2 separate regions of the Homo sapiens genome follow, and region 1 is linked to region 2. Evidence: promoter capture Hi-C in 16 types of primary human blood cells and fetal thymus (Javierre and others, 2016). All regions are on one chromosome and are shown on one strand. Each heading gives the region's core, a stretch centred on a gene start or on the middle of the fragment in contact. The rest is flanking DNA. Distances are from core to core; before and after follow the strand shown. Region 1 holds the start of MZF1 (myeloid zinc finger 1). Region 2 holds the start of ZNF772 (zinc finger protein 772).

Region 1 (5,594 bases), core at 3,080-5,579, 1.1 Mb after region 2:
GGAATACTCGCCCTGCTTGCAAAAGGTTTTACTAGGGTGGGGAGTTTCTAGAAAGTAGAGGGGCTGTGGGATCAGTGGTAGTGGTGGGTGGCTTTTTTTGAGGGCAGAAGATGCTAGAGGAGGTTGAACCTTATAGGGGATGATCTAGGGAATGGGGGAACTTGGGGATGCTGGAGTAAGAGGGCTGCCTGCGTAGGGCCAGGAGTGGGGTCGGCAGAGATGGTGCTGTCCATGCGGAAGGCCTAGTCCCACCACACCCCATCTCACTTACCTGGGGAGAAGATGCCCCCAGCTTCCTCATGCCACAGGGCCCTGGGGTGCTCCCTCCATGAGGGACCCTCAGGCCCAGTCTTGCTGTGGGGAAAGATCTGGTCCAGCACGGTCCCACATCTCTGAAATCACAGTGGTCACTGCTCCTCTGTGCCTGGCTGGGCTCAGGGAGGGACCTACCTGACCCCACCCAGCAACTTCCAGGGAAAGGAGGAGAACATGGACCTGGGCAGGACTTACCTGGGCCTCCTCAGGCAGGAGGGTGGGTACAGACTCCTGGGTGGCAGCTAGAGGCCCAGACTCCAGGAAATCTAGAGAGGAAAACTGGTATCAGGCAGCCTGAGTGAGTTTCCACCCCACTGCCCTTCTTAGTGGTGTGCCAGGTGCTGGGATGCAGAGAGGTGGGATTCTTGGTTGTGGGCTTGGGTTGGGGAGGGCAGTGCAGGGTAGCTGAGGGCCCAGCTCAGGGGCTGGGTGAAGCAGAGTACCCTGGAAGGCCAGGGGTTGAGCTGCAGTGGGATGAGATGGGCTGAGGTTTGTGCCCCTGTAGCCGTATGTGAACCATGGGGCAAGGTGGTCAGCGGGGGTCAGAGGTATTGTACAAGGGTCCACATAGGAATGGCAGGGTGTGAGCAGCTAGTTCAGGTGCCCTGCCTGGGAGGTGAAAGGGGTCATACCCCTAACACTACGAGGTCCTCCCTCAGCAGCTCCTAATTATACCTCTGCCTGCTGTCTGTTCCCCAGTGACAAGCACATATTGCCTAACGCATCTCCTTGGGGACTGAACACCACATGCCATCTGTACTGGGAAACCCCAACAGCCTGCTCCATGCCATGGGGTTCGTGGGTACAGGGCTGTGGCAGTCAGGCTTGGTGTGTGAGGGGTAGTGACAGCACTGGCTGCGGTGGAGGGGAGACCTGACTGGGTAGAATGTGGGGGCTGCTGGCAGATGGAAACCATTCCATTTATAACAAACCTGGCCCAGTGGACTTCAGACTGACTGCTCAGGCCAGGTTCCCTGGCCCACCCAACCAGACCTTAGGCGCGCCCACCGTGCATGCCCTCACCTGAGTCCTCTGTAACCTCTGACTCCTCTTTCACCTGCAGGCCCAGTGGTGATTCCTGCATAGTCCTAGGAGGTGTCTTGGGCCCAGGCTCTGGAGTTGGAGGCTCAGTTTCAGGTAGGGGCTGGAAACTGGAGGGCTCCATCTTCTCTGATAGGACCTCCTGGCCCTGCACCTGGACTGTGACCTGGGGAGGTGCCCCCACCATCAGAAGTCCTACCAGAGAGTAAGGCTGGCCGCAACCTGGGGTTTGTGGGTGCCCATCCCACTGTAGGATCCCAGGGGCCTGCCTTGTAAATACCTACTGACTAGGTCCTCCAAGGACCTACCTCCCCTAGGCCCTGAGCAAAGAATGAAGGGACCACCTGCAGTCCCTCCCCTGCTCTGACATCGTGGCCTTCCAGTACCTTCCCCATATTCCCCTAGCCTGCAGCTCCTATGTCCACGTGACTGCAGGTGATGCAGGAATGGGCTGGGGAGTCTGGCCCTGGAATCCCTCTGCCCTGGGCAGCCTTGCACAGGGTCTCTGTTGCAGGTGGCCACTTCTGTACCACAAGGGAGAACGTGTGTCTGGCAAAGCGTGGTGCTGCCCAGGGTGAGGCCGAGCTGGATGATGCTCCAGTCCTGAACCCCACTCGTGGACACTCACTCACCCATCTCCGGGGTCCGCCCGGCTCCCGGCGCAGCCCATCTACTAGGGCAGCAGCCTCCTCGGGGCTGCCTGGCCGCTGCCCCTGCACACGGGCCTGGATCTCAGGGGGCAGTGCGCCCAGGAACTGCTCCAGCACCAACAGCTCCAGCATCTGCTCCTTGGAGCGTACCTCTGGACGCAGCCACTGGCGACACAGCTCTCGGAGCTGGGCCAGGGCCTCTTGGGGCCCTGTGGCCTCCTCATAGCGGAAGCACCGGAAACGCAGGCGTGCAGCTTCAGGGCCTGGGTCCCATAAGGCAGCCTCACCCTCCTCCTCAGAGTCCTCTAGCTTCACCATGACAGGCCCCTCATCTTCTGGGGGTGCTCGGTCTGGGGAGCCCAGCACCGCAGGCCTCATAGAGGGTACCAGGTCAGGTATCTGAGGCCAGTGTCTGCCCCTGGTGAAGAAATAGGATGAGGCTGTTGCAAAAGGAGTACAGTGAATGCTTCACTGCCTAGTCTATGCTGTACCGTTTGATCCTCAGACCTACCCCATGTGGAAGGCAGATGAGGAAACAGGCAAAGAAAGGCCATCTACAACCCACAGACTTATGCAGCTGGAAGCCCTCCCTTAGCCACCTGTATCCCTGGTCTTCTCTCCGCTTGGGCCTGTGCAAAGTCTCTGACAGTCTCCCTGCTCCAAACACAGGCTTTTTTTTCTTTTCTTTGAGACATGCTGTCAGTCAGTTGCCCAGGCTGAAGTGCAGTGGCGAGATCATGCGTCACTGCAGACTTGACCTCCCGGGCTCCAGAGATCGGCCTCCCAAGTAGCTGAGACAACAGGTGTGTGCCACGACATCCGGCTAATTTCTTAATTTTTCTGTAGGGATGGGATCTTACTATGTTGCCTAGGCTGTTCTTGAACTCCTGGGCTCAAGCAGATGATCCTCTTACCTTGACCTCCCGAAGTGCTGGGACTTACAGGTTTGTTCCACCATGCCAGCCCACAGGCTGTTTTTTAGGACTAGAAGACACTTCTCTCCCCTGTATCCTTCCCTTCTTCTACATGTGCAACCTCATTCCTGCGCTACAGCTCTCTCTTTACCAGGTGGATGGCACCTATACACCTACAGCCTGGGCATCAGCATCACTGCTGGCGTCTCCCCCTACCCAACGCCAGCCCTTACTTCACCTTCTATTCTCTCATCTACTTCGATGTGGCTCCTCATTTGGGCCCCACCATCATTCCCCTCCCTGCTTGGAAGCCTCACTCCACCTAATCCTCCATGTCAACCTGTGCAGTCACTTGTATGGCTCAGCTCCCAGGCAGCACCCTCTCTCCCTACTCAGCCCCATCTTCTAAGCCCAACATCACACTACGCAATGCCCCATCTCAGCTTCCTGATTTAGCTGGGGTTGGAAGGGGATGGGGGAGCTTCGCAATGGGTGGGGGGGCGGCAAAGGCTCCAAGACTGCCGGAACAGGAGCCTGCAAGGAAGTCCCGAGACTCTGATTCCGCCCATCTTCAGATCACTGTGCCTTCGAGAACTTGTTTCCCCATTTGCAAGTGGGGCTGACCTCCCTCCTCGCGCTGTTCCTTCTGCAGCTGCGGCTTTAGGAAGGAATCTGCGTTTATGAAGGGGATGGCACCGCAGAATCATTCCCCCGTGGGTGGCATCGATTTCGAGGGCCGCCTCATCCTGGGGGCCAAGCCTCCACTCTTCAAGGTGCCAAGTCAACCTGAAACCCTGGGAGAGACTTGGGTCATAGCCAAGATGGCAGGTACCTACGGAGGGTCCCGAAATACACTTCCCAGAAGTCCAGGCGGCAACTTCCGCTCCAGGGTGCCAAGGTAGGTCCAGACGACGCCTAGGCAACCGGGGGCGGGGCTCCCAAAGCCTGTCGTCGTGGCAACGAGTAGTGATTGACAAGCCTCTCGCTCTAGCCCTGGGCGCTCCCGCAAGGACTGCCCGGATTCGTTCCCCGCGCTTCCGGTCTCACTGGGGAGCCGGAATCCCCGAGTCTGCAGCCACCGCCCCCGTCCACACGATAGCCCTCCCGGTTAAGAGGACCCCGCCCTCACCTCTGCGCTCAGCGGGCCGCTCCGCGCTCCTGAGCACGCGCAGTCTTCGACTTCCCCCTCCCGCTGGACTACGTCTCCCAGGATGCTCCGCGCACCAGCTCGAGCGCCTCCTTGCCCTTCCCCCACCCTCGTCCCCGTTTCTACACCCTCTCCTCCCTTCCCCTAGCGGTGGTCGCAATGATCAGGTCATACTCCTGGCCGCTTCTTCCCATGCTCCCCGCCTCGAATCCGTGCGTCGGCATGCGCAAGCCTCTCAGGTACAACAGACGGCAGCACCGCCTACCAGATCGCGCATGCCCCCCACCACGTTTTCCTCACTTCTCTACGGGCCTTCCTGAGATTAGCAGGATCCTGCACCAATCACGGCCGTCATTAGAACTCCGTCGGTGCCCCACCGCGTCTCCATGGCAACTCCCTACAGGAAGGGGCCTCTGCTACTTCCTAGACCGCAAAATGGAGAAAGGCTTGGCCCGATGCTTTCCGGCAGATGTAGTCAGCAGGCCCTTCGTGTGTACGTGCGCGCGCGGCGCGATGACGTTCCTCTGTGATCATGGGCGAGGGGCGGGCCCTGAACGTCTCCATGGTAACCTGGGGACACGACTCGACATCGCCTGGGTAACCCGGAGACGCGGCGGGCGTTGAAAATGCAATGGGGCATGTGGGATGAAGAGGTGGGGAAGGGTACTGGGGCAGAGAGATGCCGATCGATAGAAACAGCGAGGAGAGACGGAGAGAGACCAGAGACTCAAGGGCAAAGAGAGACGAAGGACCGGCGGGAGGAAGAGAGAGAGAGACAGAGAGACAGACTCACAGACTGGGAGGACCGGAGACTCGACGCGAGGAGAGACAGTGAAAATAAGTGAACAAACATAGAGACACGGGTCCAAGTTATAAGAGGGCTGAGTGGATCAGAGGGTCAGGGCCGGGCAAACAGGTGTCAGAACAGTTAGCAAGAGAGAGGCAGATCAGAAAGGGATGCAGATGAAAGAGACACAAAGAAGGAAACGCAGAATGGGTTCACAGAGACAAGAAATGCAGATATCCAGACTCAAGAGGTAGACAAGAAGGGAGAGGGACAGAAACAAGAAGGGAGAAAAGGGACAGAAATTAGAGATACAGTAAGATGGATTGACAGTTTTCGAAGACCTAGAGAAAGATGACAGCACGAAGAGAGACAGGGAGAATCCGAGGTAAAACTGTTAGGAAAACTTAGGAGTCCAGATGCTGTCCAGTTATATGCTACCCTGTACAGGTTGATAGGTTGCAAATGCTTTCTGTCCAGTGTATCGCTTTGTAGCTCACTAAGCAGTTTTGTATCCAACTTTGTGCTTTTATTTCAGTGTTTTTCTTTTTCTTTCTTTCTTTTTTTTTTTTTTTTTTTTGACGGAGTCTCGCTGTTGCCAGACTGGAGTGCAGTGGCACGATCTCGGCTCACTGCAACCTCCGTCTCCCAGGTTCAAGCGATTCTCCTGCCTCAGCCTCCCGAGTAGCTGGGACTGCAGGCTGCTCCACCACACCCGGCTGATTTTTGTATTTTTAGTAGAG
Region 2 (5,934 bases), core at 2,011-4,510:
ACAGGGGTAAGCCTTCTGAGTAGAAGGACCTCCCTTGGGAATCCTGATCTGTGACATTCCTATAGAAAAGCTCTGCTCAAAAGGTATCTCTTCATCCTCCATTCCATGCCAACAACCTGAAAGCAGAGAAATGCTGGTGAAGTACAAATTGACACAGGTGGAAGAGGGGAAGCCTCACTACAAATATGTGTCTAACACAACTAAGACCAAGGTCATAGGACTGTTGTTAGGACAAGGGTCCAAACTCAAGTTCAGCAAATGTGTACTATACGGTAGTTGGCATCTAAATGTCATAGAATGGAGAAGGCCTCAACTGGGAGAGGACAAAGATGTGGGGTACAGCACAAAAAAGAGGCAGGTCTCAAAGTCATTCACAATCAGATTTTCTTGGCTGCTGGGGACAGGTGAGAGTTGTGCAGAAGGTTATGGTCCATACCAAAGAAAATCAAATTGCTACTCAGTAGTTGGTGTTTAAGGACTATTTGGGCTACACATCTCATGAAACACTAAGTACAGGCCAATGCTGGAAGGCACTGTAGAACAAGCCATGGAGAGGAACAGGTGAGACATGAAGGCAGAGGTATGGAACATCCAGAGGCCAAAGGCCAGAGTATGAAAGGCCAGTGGCCTTAGCACTAATACAACTGTAGGCACAAAGAGGCTATGGAATGATATGAACCCAGCCCTGACATCACACCTTTCCCCAGCTCCTACTCACCAGGGTCACTCCCACCTGGAGTCTCTGTGGCAACAGCTAGGGTCATGTCCACCCAGTCAGGTACCCAGGGCTCACTACCCATCACCAGTGAGGCAACTATGTGGGACATGAAAGATGTATGTCCTAAGGGAAAGATAGAACAGCACTGGTCTGGGTAACCCATATAGAAAACTAAATATTATTAAAATAATCTCAGAGTAAGGTCTTGCAGGAATAGTGCAGTGGTCCTAGCAAGTAGCGACCATAATGGTCCCTACAATTCCTGACATAGGCAGGCCACAGGAAATGTCAGCTAAAGGAAGAGCGCAGAATCCCAGGCACAGAGGTGTCATGGATACAGACAGAGGAATTCAGACAGGGAAAGGACAAGATGGATATGACCCACTGGGCTGACAATACAATGCATAACTCCTGAATCCATGCCTGCAAGGCTCTGAGACAGCAAGCGCTGGGAATGCTCAAAAGGAGAAAGTAGGAGTGCAAACAGCCCAAGCCCAGCACTCACAGAACCTACTCCAGGCACTAAGAAATGAGACAGTGTCCACGGCTCTGATGTAGGAAGGACAAAGATGCCCTGAAAAAAAGGGGAAGGGCAGGACCCAGTCCAAGTCACTGGGGTGGATGTGACGGCCTTACCCAGAGAGGCCATAAGTGCAAAGTTCTCCAGCATCACATCACGGTACAGGAGCCTCTGAGCCTCATCAAGGAGCACCCACTCCTCCTGGGAGAAGTACACGAACACGTCCTCAAAGTTCACCTGCCCCTGCCACAATCAGGAGAGCCAAGTCCATGAGCAGCATCTCTCCCAAGAACCCCCATCCGTGCCCCCACACATCTCCCTCCTGTACACCCTCCTACCTAACTCCTCAACTCAGGAAATATCAGGACCAGATGTCATTGGTGTCTTCTCTCGCCTCATGGTCCCAATGGATCACTGTGTCTACCCATAGCAACCACAGGCAGGTGAAGAAGTTGTCACCCTCTAAGCTCTGTGCTTAGCATACAGGGCCTCACCCTTCTGTAAGCAAATTCCTCTGGGGTCACTAACATCATGCTTACCAGACAACCAAAGATGGGCTTGCCTTTCTCCTTTAAGCCCAGACGTCATCAGTCTACACTTCTTTCCATATGTACATCACTCTTTGGATCACAGTTATCTCACAACTCTGGCTCTCCACCATCACTTTCCTGGCTCACTAAATGCACTACCACTGTGAAATGAATATTCTCTTTTAACTCCCAATCTACATAATCATCTTTAAGCCATTTCAGGATGATTCCCGCCCCCTTGCTCTTGGTTCCCACCAGACATGACAGAGACCTGCAATTTCTTGAAAACTCCCTTCTCAGTCTCACCTCTAAGTATTTTGCACAGGCTGGTTCCTGTGCCTGGAACAACCTTCCAACCTTATTCCAATGGTTGGCAGAAATGGAAACCCCTCCATAAAACCCCTGGCCCGGAGTCAGGACCCTGGGCTTGGGGCTTCTCCAGAGTCCTCAGACCCAAGAGATCGGAGAGTAGCAGGAGAGTGTTCTATATAACACCACAATGCTGGAGAGCGTATTGGGTGGGGGTGGGATCGGTGAGAGCATGGACATTCTCCCCTCACCTGTATAGGGTCCACAATTACTTCTGAGTTCATGGGAACCTGTGGGGAAGAGGGAGACTATGCGAGTCAAGCAATCTTGAAGGAACCCCAAAGGCTCAACCCCATCCCATATTCCTACCCAGTTACAATGTGCCTGGGAGCTGAATGTCTACCCTCTGTGCTTCCATCTTCAAGGATACCTCTTAACTGTGTTAGCTCGGAACAGTGCTCATTATCCGCCCCCATGGCCAACAAGAGTCTGCCCTCCATGAGCAGTCTATGGAATACTTTTTAAACCCTCGGATTCTGGCTCTCCTCTGTTCAGAACCTTCCATGGCTCCCATCACCCTCAGAATAGAGACCCAGCTGCTCAGGATGATATTCCAGGTGCAATCACTTATAAAGCGCTCTGATCCTTTCAGACACTAAAGGCCCAGTTTTCCCAAATGCTCCAGCTGTGAACCATCTCTGAGCCTTTGCATACACTGGTCTCTCTGCCTGGAACGTCCTTCAACTCGTGCTGTCAAAATGGGTCCCAAACACGAGCGCCCCCACTGTTCTAGATACAGGGGCCTGAGCTGCAGTAACCCGAGGAATCGTTCATTCGAAGCTTTGGGATTCAGAGATGGGGGTCAGCGCGCAGACTCGCAGACGCAGCACCCACCTGTGCCGGGCCCATCGGCTCAGCCGCCGCCATCAGGCCTGTGGACTACGGAAGGGTGGCGACAAGTGCAGGAACCTGGGATCAGCTGTCCAGGGCCCAGCCCAGCGGCTAGGTCACTCAGGCAGCGCCACTGTCAAGCCTCAGGCCCACCTCTCTTCAGGGAAGAAGACACTCTCTCACGTTTTCCCTTTTCTGTCACCTCAGGTCTGACATTGCGTTCTGGAAACTAAACCAGTGGATTAATGGAAAAGCAAACAAAATGTCCACCCGAGGATGGTAGAGGAAGTCCCGCCCTGACGTTGGTGAGGACCAACGGAAACGCCTATTTCCTGGGTTTTCATTGGCCCAGAGCCGCCAAGTTTCCTGGGTAATGTAGTTCCCACGGCACCAACACTAGTAAGCGGCGTCTCGCTTCACCTCCAGGTTAAAAGCCCAGAGAAGACCGCCAGGGGCGCGTGGAAATGGTGTCCCTCGTCTCCAAGGCCCAGACGGAGCTTAGCTTCCTCTTGAAGGAGCCATATCTGTATTTCTGGTGAACGTCGTGTTTGACATCAAAGGAATGTTTAGAGACATGATTTCAGCCTTCCTTACGCAGAGAATGCTCATCAAAAAATAAAATGGACACACCATACACTGACGTCACTCAGATTTCTATGGCTGGAAGTTAACAAATATTGTTTTCAAATGCGTGTAGCCTGATGCTCCAGAGTTAGTTTGGCGAGCCTCAGCATTTTCTGTCAGGCACAAGAAAGAAAAGACTCCAGACACCATGATGTGGAACGTGGAGTGGGGATGTTTGGTGGCCTTGAAGTAAGTGAATAACCCTTCTGTCTGTTACCTCAGAAAATATTTATCCTGCTTATACAGCAGTGATTGTGTCAAACCCAACAAGTAATACTCTTGTTCAAGATAGTATTTCATACTCCATATACAGAGATGTATTCAATATTTTAAGTGTTTTACAAGTGTCTGAAAAGACAGAATTCATCAAATGTCATATGGCAATGAAAAGGGCAACATGAACACTTTCTGTAAAGAAGAAATAACCACCAAACTAGATGTCTATACACAACAAAATGTCTTTTATGGAAGTGTGATATAAAACTATTTGAAACCAAAAATGATAAATGTAATGGAAATACATTTACACAAAAAATAATGTTTAAAATAATACTCAAGGCCAAAGAAAGTTGATCTCAGGTGAAAAGTCTGCAATGAGAGAAGAAATGAAGATGAAAAGAAGTGCATCTTTTGATTAAAATAACAGCATATTACAGTGTAAAACATAAGTAGATATACTTATTGAGTTAGAATGATGGAATTCCCGTGCGTAACCTCAACTACATATAAATTGAAAGGAGGCTAGTTGCTCAAAGTTTTAAATTTTTTATATTTCCAAGTGGAAAGCAAATGTATTACAATCCTGTATGGCACGCTAATGTGTTAAACGTTTGTAATTTTTAGCCTAAATATAATAAATACAGTCAGCGTATATACTTTTCAAACTAGAAGAGGAAATGTTTGGAATATAAATAAATAATCAATAGAAAGGTAAAATAATAGTAAAATAAGTGGAAGAAGTGAGGCAAAGAAAAGCACAATGTAGGATATATTTAAACTGTCAACCTAAATAACAGAGATTCTTCAAAGATGTTGAGTTCATTCAGGAATGCACAGGGGATTTGCAAATCCAGGACATGCAGGCTATAGGGACTATAGGCATATCCAGAGAGCTTGAAACAAGGAGAAGCTTTCAAAGGCAAAAGGGAAAAGTATATATAATTTGTTTTGAGATAAAAAGAACATTGGTCACAGATGTTTATGGCAGAGGTTAACACCAGTTCATTAGTGGAGACAATCTGTCAGGCAAGTGTTCTACTACATCTAGAGCTGTCCTTGTAACTCCTGTAGCAAGCTGCGGTTTGAGAAGTTCTTGTCAAAACTTCTTTTAACGGGAATATGTGCATTAAGAGCCCTCAGAGACAGTAATAGCTCTTATCTTAAGCATGTGTGTTTGAGTGCCCTCTTTTCTCAGCCTCCTGGCTTTATTTATTTATTTACTTATTTATTTATTTTACACAAGTTACTCATTTTGGTTTTGACAACTTTTGCAAAACCTAAATGACTATGCAATAAATACTCAAATAAGCAGTTAGTAATTTTTGATGGACCAAAACACGCTTCACGAGGTATTCTCTTTTCTTCAGTGAATTTCCACAGAATTTGAATTGTGATTGAAAGCACAACTAACATTCCCAGACTCCCTACTCTGTCAGTAAGAAAAGAATCATGTTGTAGTTAGAAACGTCCAAAATCTGCTTTAGAGAAACCAAGACCTACGCTTGAAGGTTACCAGGCCCTTGACTCACCCAACTGGGCTGAGATGTCATCAGGGAACTGCATATCATCAGCATCTTCTGGTTATTCATACAGGGGTGGGATAAGGATGACAATAATTTACATTTAATAATGTCCATATCCTAGACATTCTATCAGACCTTTTATAAACACTACGCACTTTTGCCCTGTAAAGTGGATTTGTCACCTAAATTAATATGAGGAAACTGAGGTTTCTTGGGTCTATAATTTATTTTCAGCTGTAGCTGTTAAGTGGCATAGTTGGCAATGGAGTCCAAGGAGCCATGACTAACTACTTCCCAGCATGGCCTCCTACCCTAGGTCATCTATCTGGGTAGGTTCAGAGCCCTTTCTATGTTAGACAAACAAGGCTATGAAAAATTCAATGTCCCAGGCAGCTGACATGAGGACAAGAATGTGTCTTGCCTTTTCTTCACCACAGAAACATGAACCTTCAGCTTCATTTATTCCCTAAACGTGGGTTCCTTGGATGCCAATCAAGAATCAAAACAGGAAAAGTCCTGCTGGCCCACAAATACAGAGGGTTTGATAGGTGAAATGTTATTGCCTGAGCCTCACCGTATCATCCCAACCACCCACATATC

What was found. Contacts are between HindIII fragments. The CHiCAGO score rates a contact against its expected background, and 5 or more counts as called.
Region 1: a contact is called between the fragment with the promoter of MZF1 here and the fragment with the promoter of ZNF772 in region 2, in 1 of 17 cell types (naive B cells). The highest score is 5.0, in naive B cells.

What each region holds. Positions count from the first base shown.
Region 1 is chr19:58,569,006-58,574,599 of GRCh38, forward strand. MZF1 (myeloid zinc finger 1) reads right to left here and starts at 4,330. Exons shown (of 6, transcript NM_198055.2): 1 at 4,050-4,330; 2 at 1,989-2,424; 3 at 1,339-1,522; 4 at 511-581; 5 at 272-392. The coding sequence starts at 2,384. MZF1-AS1 (MZF1 antisense RNA 1) reads left to right here. Exons shown (of 6, transcript NR_027334.2): 3 at 1,379-1,452; 4 at 2,853-2,950; 5 at 3,573-3,818; 6 at 3,912-5,594. RefSeq lists enhancers at 3,035-3,896, 3,897-4,756, 4,125-4,214, 4,275-4,704. The HindIII fragment of the contact is 12,442 bases long and covers 1-5,594 here.
Region 2 is chr19:57,474,306-57,480,239 of GRCh38, forward strand. ZNF772 (zinc finger protein 772) reads right to left here and starts at 3,261. Exons shown (of 4, transcript NM_001144068.2): 1 at 2,972-3,261; 2 at 2,329-2,367; 3 at 1,355-1,481; 4 at 1-116. The coding sequence starts at 3,004. RefSeq lists enhancers at 2,462-2,985, 2,576-3,775. The HindIII fragment of the contact is 1,804 bases long and covers 2,916-4,719 here.